2 separate regions of the Homo sapiens genome follow, and region 1 is linked to region 2. Evidence: promoter capture Hi-C in 16 types of primary human blood cells and fetal thymus (Javierre and others, 2016). All regions are on one chromosome and are shown on one strand. The core of a region is centred on a gene start or on the middle of the fragment in contact, and the rest is flanking DNA. Distances in the headings are between cores, read along the strand shown. Region 1 overlaps SLC12A2-DT (SLC12A2 divergent transcript). Region 2 holds the start of ISOC1 (isochorismatase domain containing 1).

The links. Contacts are between HindIII fragments. The CHiCAGO score rates a contact against its expected background, and 5 or more counts as called.
Region 1: a fragment that was not itself captured here is called in contact with the fragment with the promoter of ISOC1 in region 2 in 1 of 17 cell types (total CD4 T cells); the score reaches 5.2 in total CD4 T cells.

What each region holds. Positions count from the first base shown.
Region 1 is chr5:128,075,335-128,082,340 of GRCh38, forward strand. All of the region lies in intron 1 of SLC12A2-DT (SLC12A2 divergent transcript), which reads right to left. Among named protein-coding and RNA genes, the nearest start is that of SLC12A2-DT, 4.3 kb to the right of the region's middle. The HindIII fragment of the contact is 1,526 bases long and covers 3,296-4,821 here.
Region 2 is chr5:129,091,491-129,098,265 of GRCh38, forward strand. It overlaps ISOC1 (isochorismatase domain containing 1), which reads left to right and starts at 3,259. Exons shown (of 5, transcript NM_016048.2): 1 at 3,259-3,585. The coding sequence starts at 3,277. LOC124901060 (a long non-coding RNA gene) reads right to left here and starts at 5,289. Exons shown (of 2, transcript XR_007058926.1): 1 at 5,059-5,289; 2 at 1,436-3,909. MIR4633 (microRNA 4633) reads left to right here and starts at 6,198; the gene lies at 6,198-6,276. RefSeq lists a silencer at 2,877-3,656. The HindIII fragment of the contact is 22,217 bases long and covers 1-6,775 here.

The sequences.
Region 1 (7,006 bases), core at 2,809-5,308, 1.0 Mb before region 2:
CCTATGACTTCTATATTAATTATTACTTTATAAATAGAAAGATGTTATAAATAATAAATATCTACTTGACTTATAGATATTAAATTCTTGATATATATCCTATTATATATCAAGAATTATATATTATATCAAGAATTATATAATATGGAATATATATCAATAATATCTATCTATATTATATAATATATATTAAGAATTTTATGTCTCTAGAAATTGGTTACAATTCAACCAGGCATGGTGGGTGTCTCAGCCTGTAATCCCAGCACTTTGGGAGGTCAAGGCCGGCAGATCACTTGAAGTCAGGAGTTCGAGACCAGCCTGGCCAACATGGTAAAACTCCATCTCTACTAAAAATACAAAAATTAACCAGGCCTGTTCGTGAGCACCTGTAATCCCAGCTACTTGGGAGATTGAGGCAGGAGAATCACTTGAACCCGGGAGGCAGAGGTTGCAGTGAGCCGAGATCATGCCACTGCACTCCAGCCTGGACAACAGAGAGAAACTCAGTCTCAAAAAAAAAAAAAAAAAAAAAAAAAATTGGTTACAATTGAGGTGGAATTTTAGTTCAAATCTCTTAAAAAACAAGAAACATTTCTTGACTAATCAGAAGAGCTGATACTCAGGGCCATATTCAAAGTCAGCTGGTACTTCAGTTTTAAATGAAAACAATTACATGAACCGTAATAACCTGCCTTTACCTTCATACTCATGTTTTTAAAAACTGCCATATTGAACCTAATAGTTTTGGCCCACATTTAAAGGAAGATTAAATTACTTGGAAAGGGCCCAGAGGACAGTAATAAAAATAATTACATACTTAGAAATTTGGTCCTATAATGACATGCAAGAGGAAATCATTTAGAAAATAAAACTGAAAATAACCTTACACTTTTACGGGTTACCATAACCTCTGAAGAATGGGACAAGAAGCCAAAGAATTGAATTATAATGAGAATAATTTAATTTAGTCATTAGGAAGAACATCTTATTCCTCAATAAGTATTTGAGTGATTATTAATGTCCAATGCTATGGCATAAGGACTTGTAACCACTAGGATGTGTTACTAGAAATTATTTTCTTAAAAGTGTCAGAGGTAGAATATTGTGCAAAGTAGGGGCTTATTACATAACCCTTTAAGATCTTTTCCATATTTATGATTTTTACAAAATTTCAGGCATCTAGAATAATTATAAAAACATATCTTATTTTTATGGCTTTTTAAAAGTGAAAATAGATTAATAATTAAGAAATATAAGAGGATAAAAATATTAGAGATTTTTCATTAACATTGAGGAAAATATAAGTATACAGTTAGTTAGGAAACGCATTATATTATTTGACTCCATAAAGGGGAAGCAATTAAACTAATTATTAAGATATGAGTACATGTGTGTTAAGTGTCAGTATTTGTATTTTAAATCTCTTTTTTTTTAAAGTATAGTGCAATGTAGTGAATGCAGACAAAATGTTCCTATAACATATCTGTACAGATTTTTTTCTAAGACGGGAGTCTTGCTATGTTGTCCAGGCTGGTCTTGAACTCTGGGGCTGAAGCGATACTCCTGGCTTAGCCTCCCTAGTAGCTGGGACTACAGGCACACACCAACTTACCAGTAACACATTAGTTTTAAGGGGCTCAGATGAAGGAAAATAAAATGGATTTAAGATGAGTAAAAAAGAATCCTCCTTTGTCTGGGCTTGTTCCATCTTCCAAATATGTAGCAGCAACATAATGACACTAAAAACTGCCCTAAAAATCTGTAACAGAAAAAAAAAATAGCTTACATGCTACTCAAAAAATTACCTAAATACCTCTCAAAATCAAAACAAAAAGCAAAGTAAAAAATAAAACAGGACATACTTGCAAGAAAAGATATGACCTAAAGGTTGTATCTTAGCCCTGTTTGTTTTTTGAATAAAATATTAAGTTTTAAGCATTTATTTACTGTTTACATACATTAGGCCTTACCATATTATCAGGCACTATTCTAAGTATTTTACGAATAGTACTTTATGTAATCCTCATAGCTCCACAAGTATGAGGGTGTGGTGGCTCATGCCTGTAATCCTAGCACTTTGGAAAGCAGACTGCTTAAGTCCAGGAGTTCAAGACCAGCTTAGGCAACATGGCCATACCCTGTTTCTACAAAAAACAAAAAAATTAGCCGGGGATGGTGGCCTGCACCTGTGGTCCCAGCTACTCAGGAGGCTGAGGTGGGAGGATCACTTGAGCCTGGGAGATCAAGGCTGCAGTGAGCTGTGATCTTACCACTGCACTCCAGACTGGGTGACAGAGCGAGACTCTGTCTAAAAAAAAAAAAAGCTACCATTGTTATACCCCATTTTATAGATTAGGAAACTGAGGCACAGAGGTCACACTAAGCCAAGATCACACAACAAATAGCGGAGCTGATGGAGCTGAGATTCAAATCCAGGCAGTCTGGTGCTGGAGTCCATGTGTGTAATCACTAAGCTATTATATACAAGTAATTCCTTCAAATATTAATATTTGATAACAATTTTGAACTTTGAAGTTTGCAAATATCCACAGCCTGTATAGTTAGAAGTACAAAAGTAATCACAAATAACTTTTCTAATACAGATTTTAAATTGGAAAAGATTTCTTTGAATAGCTTTACAACAAACATGTGTAGACAAAAGTAGGGATAAGAAAGAAAGACTGTTTTTTAAATGCATTTGTCATGAATTTACTACCTGGGTAAGCAAAAAACTTGAGCTGTCTCTTTTGAAAGACATAATTTACAAATATGAATTTATATATTGTCTAGAGGAAAAGCACAGTACAATTTCAATTAATGTTTAATTCTATGACTGACTAAAATCTTTATAATATTTTTAATTAAAGAAGAAGGTGACCGGGACTTAGGTAAGAAAGCAAAATTATAACATTTACTACATAACAAGTTTTTTGTTTTTTTTTTTACATAAACAAGCTTTGTTTCTTACAAAAAAAAACAAGCTTCTTCTTTTTTTTTTTTTTTTGGATACAGAGTCTCACTCTGTCGCACAGGCTACAGCATAGTGCCGCAGTCTCGGCTCAATGAGGCCTCTGCCTCCCGGGTTCAAGCAATTCTCATGCCTCAGCCTCCCTAGTAGCTGGGATTACAGACATGCACCACTACACCCAACTAATTTTTGTATTTTTAGTAGAGACAGGGTTTCCCCATGTTGGCCAGGCTGGTCTCGAACTCCTGGCCTCATCTGATCCGCCTGCCTCGGCCTCCCAAAGTGCTGGGATTATAGGCATGAGCTACTGTGCTAGGCCTATAAAAAAGCTTCTTTAGGGTAACTTTTTTCTTTTTTCTGTAACAGAATAATCACATTATTTCTCAAGGGAAATACCATTTACTCAATTTGTACTCTGAATGCCATCTAATAAAACAGCAAAGCCACAACCATGCAGAATGTCAGCACAGCATGTCTAACTAAAACTCACTGTAAGAAAAAAAAGGAAAAGAGAGCTGATTTCAAAGGTTCTACATGGCTTTGCACTTCACATGCTCTGATGCTGCAGATATGAGAAGTTGTAGGTCTAACATAATTTATATCTTCTTTTAGGATACTTTGGCATTTGTGAATTGAGAAGTTTGGAAAACAACTACGCAAGTCACTTCTAATCCTAAAATTCCAACTACATGAAATAAATATTAGTAAGTACTCAGACACACACAATGTCAAAGGCTGGCCTTGTGGCAAAAAGGAAATACAGCAAAATCAGTCAGGTTCCCACCACGGCACTGATAGCAAGTCTGTTCTCAAGGTTAGTCTCTAAACTGACACCTGGTAAGTCTGACAATGAAATATTTGCCAACAATTAAGTAAAGGAGATCTCTCCTGATAAATTTTTCATAAGTTTCACATAATACACTTTGATATTTCCTGGAATGTTTGTGGCCCTCCCCTCACTGCATTGCTCTCTCATTTTGTTGGCTAATACATGTTACTAAAGTCAATATATATTCAACTCATTTTTCTCTGCCTCTTGGCCCAATTTAACACAGCTGATCCTGTTTTCAAATGCCTTCATCTGATTTTCTTCTCACCTCCTGACCTTTGTAGGTCTTTTATGTGCTCATTAATGTTGGAATTACTTATTTTTTCCTTAACCAAGTTTTTCATCTGTAAAATGGATGTAATCTTATGATTTTCTTCATAGTGTTGCGAGAATTCAGTAAGATTATGAATGTATAGATTTTGGCACAGTATCCAGGACCTAAATTCTCTATAAAGGCTAACTACTATTACTACTATCAACTCACAGCTAGATTAGTGAAATTGTGTCCTGACTTTCCATGCTTATTCTTCCTCTTCTCCACTCTTCTGCTCATAATATAACTAGTTTTATTTTTATTTATTTATTTTTTGAGACAGTGTCTCACTCTGTCGCCCAGGCTGGGTGCTGTGGCACAATCATAGCTCACTACAACCCCCACCTCAAGTGATCCTCCCACCTCAGCCTCCCAGGGAGCTGGGAATACAGGTGCGTGCCACCACGCCCCACTAATTTTTGAATTTTTGTGGGTTTTTTTGGTAGAGATGGGGTTTCATTATTGTTGTCCAGGCTGGTCTCGAATTCCTGAGCTCAAGCCATATACCCGCCTTGGCCTCCCAAGTGCTGGGATTACAGGTGTGAGCCACCTTGCCAGGCCTAGAGAGTTTTAATAAGCACAAATCTGATTATGTGCCCCTCAATCTATCCAGAAACCCATTAATGCTTTTATAGGGCTTTTAGAATACAGACACATCTCTTACTACTTTTGCCCCCAATCCTTCCCTATGCTTTAACCAAACTGATTTCAAGCTTCTTGCTTCTTTGATAGTCCCTGCTCACTCCATGAGGGCATTTGTCCACAATATTTCCCTTGTTGGAAACCCTCTAGTGACAATTTGGTCCTAATTTTCCTTTAGACCTTTGCTAAAAAGTCACTTCTGTCTTGACTAAGTCTGGCCTATTTTGCATTTTCCTTATACTACGTTCCTATCCCCTAGAACTTCTGTTTGCAGTTACAAATTTATATGAGTGACTACTATTTATTATTAATACACATTTGTGTGTTTCTTCCAACAGACATCTCAGACTAAGCTCCTGATATTCATCCAACCCAAACCTGTTCCTTTAACCTCCTTTGCCATCTCAGAAAATAGCAATACTATTCTTCCAGTTGCTGAGGTCAAAACCCTTGGACTCTCACACTTCACATCCATCAGCAAATTCTATTGTTTCCCCAGAATTCAACTACTTTTCCCCATTTCCACTGATACCCACTGTGGTCAAAGCGCTATCATCACTTCCTGGATTGCTGTAATACCTCTTAACACATCTCCTTGCTTCTTTGACCCAACCATTTATCCCTTGCCTACCTACAAGACAGCTAGATGAATCCTTTAAAAATGGCAGATGTCATTCCTCCACTGAAACCTTCCAATAACCTGCCATCTGCCAAGGACTGTTGTGTACCCTGCTAAATTAATATGTTGAAGCCCGAATCCTCTCCTCACTCCTATGTGACTGTATTGGAGACAGTCCTTTTAAGGAGATAATTAAGGTTAAATGAGGTGATCAGGGTAAAGCCCTGATTCCACAGAACTGGTGCCCTTATAAGAAAAGAGACAACGCTCTCTTTATCATCTGAGGAGACATTGAGAAGGTACTGTCTGCAAGCCAAAAAGAAAACCCGAACATGATCATGCTGGCATTCTGATCTCAGACTTCCAGCAGGCAGAACTGTGAGAAAATATATTTCTACTGTTTGAGCCACCCAATCTATGTATTTTGTTATGGCAGCCTGAGCTGACTAACACACTATTCTACTAAAAAAGTCAAGTATGTCTAACAGCCAAAAAAGGTCCTAAACATTCTGATCTACTACATCCCATATCCTAAGCTCTCTGATGTAATTGCCTTTGATTCTTCACATCTCTTAAGCAAGTTCCAGCCAAACTGGCTTACATGCAATTCCGTGAGCATGCTAAGCATGCTCCTGCCTTTGGGTCTTTGGTTTCCCTCTGCTTCAGACACTTTTTTTCCCAAGAACTCATATCACTCACTTCCTTACTCAAATATCACCTTCTCAGTGAGGCCATCCTATGGAAAATTTTATGATCCTCATTTCACACAAATATCCCATTTCCCTTTCCTTAGTACTCACTGCTTGGATGCTATGTATTTTACCTATTTATCTTGTCTATTGTTTCTCTTTCTCACTAGAAAGAACTCCATGAGAGATGGGATTGTCCGTTTTGCTCACTGCTATATCCCGTAAATACAGAGTAGCTCATAGTACCTGTTCAGTATTTATTCAACTAAATGAATGTTGAATTCCAATAGTGGCAGAATTCGTTGTGGAGCTGAAAGGTACTGCACGGATCAACTACTAATGCAGCAATTCCCTAGTAGAAAACTGCACTGCTTAAAGGACCACCTCATTTTTCTGGCCTCCTCTGGTTATTACTAAAGCTCAAAAGGAGCTTTAAAAATCCTGATGCAACAGCTGTTTTCCCCTCTCACCGTCTTTAAAAATAGAGATAATAAAATAGCCTGAAAAGTTGTCAAGTTCAAGTAAGATCATGTTTATGACAATTTTTTGAAAATTGCCTGGTTGCAGCTTTTACTTACAGCATTTTCAAACAGTTCTGCCAACTCTGTGGCTCTTTCATCATGTTTCAAGTGTTCAGCAAACGATGGTGTTCGTCTCCATAAAGTCAAAGTTTAAAAATACAAGGGCCGGGCGCGGTGGCTCATGCCTGTAATCCCAGCACTTGGAGAGGCGGAGGTGGGCGGATCACGAGGTCAGGAGATCGAGACCATCCTGGCTAACACGGTGAAACCCCGACTCTACTAAAAATACAAAAAATTAGCAGGGCGTGATGGCGGGCGCCTGTAGTCCCAACTACTCAGGAGGCTGAGGCAGGAGGAGAATGGCGTGAACCCAGGAGGCGGAGTTTGCAGTGAGCCAAGATCGCACCCCTGCACTACAGCTTGGG
Region 2 (6,775 bases), core at 2,009-4,508:
TGCAATTTCACTAATCATTTCTTCTGGAACCTATAATCTGAAGTTTAGATTACCCAGTGAGCATTTCACTCCAGACATTGCACTTTTAGCTTGAAAAGTGACATTTGGCTATGTTTTCAGTCATCTCCATCTCCCTGCTGGTATTCCCTATCTGCTCAGTCTTATGGCTACCCTTTCTTTTAAGACCTTGAATATACTTGTAACAACTTCTTTAAAGTTCTTTTTCTCTTAATCCTAACATCTAGATTGTCTTGAGGTCTATTTTTATATACTGGAGGATTCTGAACACAGCAGTGACACGCTCTAAATTTATGTTTTTGAAAAAGTGCCACTCTAATAGCCGTGTGGTAAATGGAGTATAAAAGTCTATGTAAATGAGGTAAATGGATAAATAGGGATACAAAAGTCAAATATTGGGCACAACTTATGATGAGTTACAGTTAGATGGAAGACGACAGTGGTTTTGTCTTAGGTGGTGGCACTGGTGTGAATGAGAGGAATTTGGTTCTGACCACCAGGTCTTGCTGATAGACTGGACAAGGACAGAAAGAGGAGTAAATTAAAGGATAAACCCCTGGTTATTGTACTCAGTTACTAAAACGGGGTTGCCATTTGCCTAGATATCAACAGGGGAGAGAAAATATTCGAGGACAGAAGAAAACTAAGAGTTCTGTTAGTACATTTAAATGTGAGGTATCTATTGAATATCCAAGTGGAGATGTCGAATAGGCACTTGTGTATGAGTATGGAGTGCAGAGTGAGGGCCTGGATGTTAAAAATTTGGAAGTCAAAGGTATATGGGTGATATTTAAAGCCACAGTCTTAGGATAATAGATGTGAGGACTGAGCTCTGGTATACTTGTATTTATAGAGGTTTGGGGAATGAGAGGAACATAGGAAACGAGCTTGAAGTGAGGTGGAAGGAGAAATAAGAGAGAGTGGTATCCCAAAGACAAAGTGAATATGGTTCAAAATAAAGGGAGTAATTGGTTTGTCAAATGTTGCTGTTAACTGGGAAAGGTGAGAAATAAGCCTTTGTTTTATCAGTCTATTGAGATTTTGGGGTTTGTTTCTGTAGCATATTAATGTATTAATCAATACTGTGTAATATACCTTCTTGATTTTCTTGGAATTTAGATTCTAAAAGTAAGCATTTAACATTAACTAATAAAGCTACTGAGAGTCCTATATGAGAAAATTTTGGGCATTTGGTCCATAATATGATCTTGTCAATTAGAACAGTTATTTTCTACTTGTCATTTGAATATTCATTTATGGGGTCTTACTCACTTTTTCTGGTAACATTTATAAAAATTATCTTAATAATTGTATTTCTGAGGATAATAATTTATCACTGAAATGTGCATTCACCTCCCTTTTGCAGCCCAGTGATGCAGAGGTTGATACACAGTTGATATTCAATAAATGGTAAATGTGCCCATCAAATATCTATTTTATTAATGTTATTTAACATGCTATTACCACAATGATTGCACCATTAAACTAGGTTGTCAAGGACCAATCTCAGACAGCACAATATATATGGAAGTTGATTTCCTTACTGAAGGGTCAGAAACCTAATTTAAAAACATGAAAGGGAAATGAAGTATGTTGACTCACGGCCATGAGGGCCACGGCAGAAGACTGTGTAGATGCCAAGGTCCTCGCTGAGGATGTCTGAAGTCTAGGCCAATCTCTAATCTCCAACCTACTCTGTGTTAGGAGGCTTTACAGGGTGGAAGGAACACTTTTATTAGTCCACCCAAAATAGGTAGGTACCTTTTGGTAATCAGGTCTTGAGGGGGTACACTTATTAGCACAAATCAGCATATCTGCATATAGAAGACCTTGCAATGGAGTGGTATCCGGAAAAAAATATCATTTTGGGTCTGACGGGTTCAGACAACACTTTTAAATGGGATCTCTCAAAGTGTGATGAGAACCAGAAAAAAATGGCTATTTCTAGTAGCTTCGGTACAATTGAGCAAGAAACACCAAAGGATGGTCTTTTCATAACTTTAAAGCAGTGTGGTTCTCAAGTAGGGGGTATATTTGCCCTCTGGGGAATATTTGGCAATGTCTGGAAACATTTTTGATTGCCATAACTAGAGGGAGGAGCGGTCACTAGGCATCTAGCGGGAGTAGAAGCCGGTGATGCTGCTAAATATCCTGCAAATGCACAAGATGCCCCATCCCCAAGAAAGAGAAATGTCCATTCCAGAAGTCAACAGTGTCAGTTGGGAAACCCTGCTTTAAAGGTTATTTTCTTAGAAGAGGACAGCTTTAATACCTAAAATCTAATTTTATGTTTAGGCCCATGCCTATCTTCGCAGGACTCAATTCCAAGGAAATTCTGTTCATAATGCATGCTTTCTAATTCCAGTTAATTATAGCGCCTTACAGTGTGCAGAAGGCAGAGGATTGTTTTATTTGAAAGTGATCCCTTTTACTTACTTAAAAACAGATATCCTTAGTTTCAATATAAAGTTCAGATTTTTGCTTTTAATAGTATTTATATTCCCAAATCCAAGTCCTCCCAGAAATAGGTTGAGATGAAGGGAGGCCAGATATCAAATCCATTCCTAGAGATATTGTGTTCTGTGGGACCGAAAAAAGACAAAACTTGAACCTTGACTGGCCCTCTAAGGATTAAATTCTGCTGCTCTTCTTAGGGTATCTATCGGACTGTCCCTTTGGTTGTAAGATACCACTGCCATCTCGAGGAGGACTGCATGCTTCTGCACAGAGCCAACAGGTAACTCGTCCTGGCGGCTCTGTGTACCCAACCACAACCCTAGACTGCCAAGAACACTGCTCATTCGAAGGCGAGCGAAGCCGCGAAGAGGGCCAGCGTTAGGGGAAGGGTGGTACAAACCCTTGTGTGAGCTGCAGCACCGGGGCAAGAACAACGGGCAGCCCAGGCGGGTCTTGGGTCTGCGAGACCACTAGGCGTTCTGCCGGCAGTCAGAACCGCGGCAGAAAGGGCGCGAGCGGGGAACTGCGGGAACGCAGCGGCCCGGGAAGCTGGAGGGGGCGGACCCGGCCGGCGAGCGCAGGCGCTCCCTGGCTCACGCGCGCACCCCGGCCCCACCACCCACCCTTACGCCGCGGCCCGCCCTCCGGGGCGGGTAAGAGAGCGCGCGAGCAGCGGTCGTCAGGACACGCCCCTTCGCCTCCGCGAGCTGGCGGGCGGGCTGGCATCGCCGGGAGGCGGGGCCGCGGCAGCCGGCTGGGTGCGACTGGGCGGCCTCGGAGCTCGCAGACGCTCGGGGGAACATGGCGGCTGCGGAGCCGGCGGTCCTTGCGCTCCCCAACAGCGGCGCCGGGGGCGCGGGGGCGCCGTCGGGCACAGTCCCGGTGCTCTTCTGTTTCTCAGTCTTCGCGCGACCCTCGTCGGTGCCACACGGGGCGGGCTACGAGCTGCTCATCCAGAAGTTCCTCAGCCTGTACGGCGACCAGATCGACATGCACCGCAAATTCGTGGTGCAGCTGTTCGCCGAGGAGTGGGGCCAGTACGTGGACTTGCCCAAGGGCTTCGCGGTGAGCGAGCGCTGCAAGGTGCGCCTCGTGCCGTTGCAGATCCAGGTGGGTCCTGCGGGAGGCCGCGCGCTTCCCTGTTCCCGAGTCGTCCCCGTCCCCGTCCCTGTCCCCGCCTTCGCCGCGCTCCTCAGGTGCCCCGAGCCGCCCGGGACCCGGGCCCTGCGCGAGTGGCTGAGTCCGAAGGGCTGCGCGTCTTTCGCAAGTTCCGGGGCCGGCTGGGGAATGCCCCTGTCCAAAGGTGATGGTCACCAGCTGTCCCCGGCGGGGGCGTGGGCCTCGTAGCTGGTTTCAGCGCCCGCGAACGCCCCCACGTGTGTGGTCCTCGGTCGCCCGCATCCGCTTTTTATGCCAGGATCAGGTCCCAGCCTCCTGCGTAACCAAAGGGCTGTGCTGTAGTAGCTGTTTTTATTTTGGGGTGATGGGTGATGCAGAATGGGGGGAAATGAGATTGTGGGGAGTATTGGTCTTAGGGTTTGTTCCTAGAGTTGTGTTAACCACTTGCGGAAACGCAAACTTTGGGAGTCAAACCCATTCCCCCCCGCCTTCCCAGGCTCTCAGGTCCTTGGGCTTAAGAGTTCCCTAACCTTAAGCAAATAACCATTTGCTTAGCCTCCTCTTAGTAAAGTGTCTACTGACTTGATTACGTTTTGTCGTCTGCATTGAAAAAGTCATTTGACTCCATGATTGTAATTCCTTCTTGAATACAAATACCCAACTTAAGCTAGACCTTGAGTTCCTGGGCCTGCTGGCTGGGAAAGTTGTTCTACCTGAGGACTACTTAACAGCATTTATTTTAAGCTGTGCTCTCATGCTAGGCGGGTTAATCTTCCGCCCTCTTTAGGATCAGATTGTTCACTGGCGAATTTATATTTTGGAAAGGAAAGAATATAAGGTATAATTTAGGTAGTACACTGTCGATATCATTTCTTTAGCTGAGAAACTGATAAGTCATTTTTTCAGAAGACCAAACTGAAATGTGGGATTCGGGGATAAAAGGTATTTTAATATTTAAGTGTCATTTTCTTTCTTTTTTGTTTTTAGTTTTTATGGGCACATAATAGTTGTACATATTTATAGGAGACGTGATATTTTGATTCAAGCATACAGTGTAGTGATCAAATCAGGGTAATTGGAATATCCATTACCTGAAACATTTATCATTTATTTCTTTGTTCCAAATTCATTTTTGTAGTTATTTTGAAATATACAATAAATTATTGTTAACTATAGTCACGCTATTGTGCTACTGAACACTAGAGCTTATTCCTATTATCTGTGTTTTTTGTACCCATTAACAGTGCCATTTTCTGAGGATTATTCCCTAGTTTTTTTCCGCTGTAGTTGGCAGCTGAATTGATGATGTTTCCTGTCACCCCAACACCTGTGCCAGAAGTGTCCAAAGCAGGTACTTTAGCTTCGATAAAGTTCCTGCATTCAGAGGACAAAGTCAGAGACTGCACTCTCTGCCAGTGGAGAACCTGGAACTGGATACAGTGATCTGATACCCCAGAATCTTACCTGCTGCTCAGATAGGGAATTGCAGTTCTTAGGTGCTTAAGACTCCTCATTTTTATGTCTTCAAGCGTTTTCGTGTCTGACACCTCTCTGCAGCCTTCCTTGTCAGTCCTTTTACGTTACTGCTGCCAGAATACTCAGATGTTGGATGCACCTTTGAGAAGTCCATTTATAAAGGCTAGAATCCAAATACTAACTGCGGAGGTCTGGGACTAAGGATGCAGACTTCTTTATGAAGCATTTCCTGTTACGGCTTGGAGGGAGGCTGGGCTCTTATCTAAGATAATGCTATTCTAAACTAGGCCCCAGCTCTGTAAGAGTCCCCGCCTTCCAAGATAGGATTTTTATATTTGAAAATTTCAGGGCCTTGGTCTGGCAACTCTTAAAAACATTCTAGAAATTAATGAAATGTATGTACCTGAAAACGCTTGTACATTCTCAAAAGGCGTTATATAATTCTGGTCACCTGTAGCTTTTGCAGTGTTTTGCTTGGTATAGGAGATTATGTATAGTTCACTTTTTTTTGGTGAGGTTTAAAATAACAATAGCATTACTCTACTCCCTCTTCAGAAGAAATTTTTCCGCCAACTAGTCTAATAATTCTTAAGCATTAGTTATATTTTTGCATTTATATAGCTTTATATTTTTAATTCTTTAAAAATATTTTCTCTTCTATATTATCTCATTTTAGTAGTTATACTTTGACTTCTTCAGCCTGATGCCTCTCCTAGCTTAGAGGTAGATAAAGGAAGGGGATAGATACATAAATATGCACACACTGTGTATCGTATATACCTTCTGATACCGATTTATGTCTATATGAGAAGAGAGAGATATATATACACACATACATATATATGCATATGTGTGTATAATCTCAGAAAGTCATGATATTTCTCATGACTACTGTACACTATATTCTTTGGAACCTAACAGCATAATCCTAGAGACTTGGATGTTTTATGGCTGTAAGAGACCATACAGTTCATTCCACAACATGTGAGTGGCAGCTTTAAATGCCTGGCACAGTGAATGCAAACTTGGATTCAATTCTTGTTCCTTACCTAATAAATGAACTTTCACTTTGAGGAAGTGCAGAAGAACATAGGGAGGTGGAGGTGAGTAACTTGCTGCAGGTTACATGGCAAGTCTCCGCATATGCCTGGCTAGCTCCTCCACAAATGCGTGTGGAGGAGCTAGCCAGGCATATGCAGAGCGTCACTTACAGCCGAACACAGCACTACTGCTTGCATGTTTAATGAGAATTGAGCAGTCTGGAAAACAAGTCACAAACTTGAGCTCTTGTTTGTTCATTTGTCTTGGTGCTGCTCCTTGTTCTTTGGAATAAATGCTTGTCACTTAGGAAGACTCAAGGTGGCCTATCGGTGAGTCCATGTTACTGGGGATGGTTGGCCCCTTCTTGAAGGCAGGGACAAAGAGCACAAGTTTGGCCACATGTAGTTCATTGCGTAAATAGTGATTTATTATTTCTCCACACTTGGGCCCTGGAGCCTCTGTGGCCCTGGCTCACGTACTGTTAGTCTAGAATGTATTCTTCATTTGCGCCGTGGTATGAGTTGCCTTCGTGCTTATTCTGACAGCTGTGGCTGATGACCTTGTGAAACACAGTGGCTGCCTTTGCCACACTGCACCCGTGCTTGTTAGTGGTTCTATGAGAACTGATCTTTAAGACCCCCCATTGCCAGTATTAGGCTGTGGT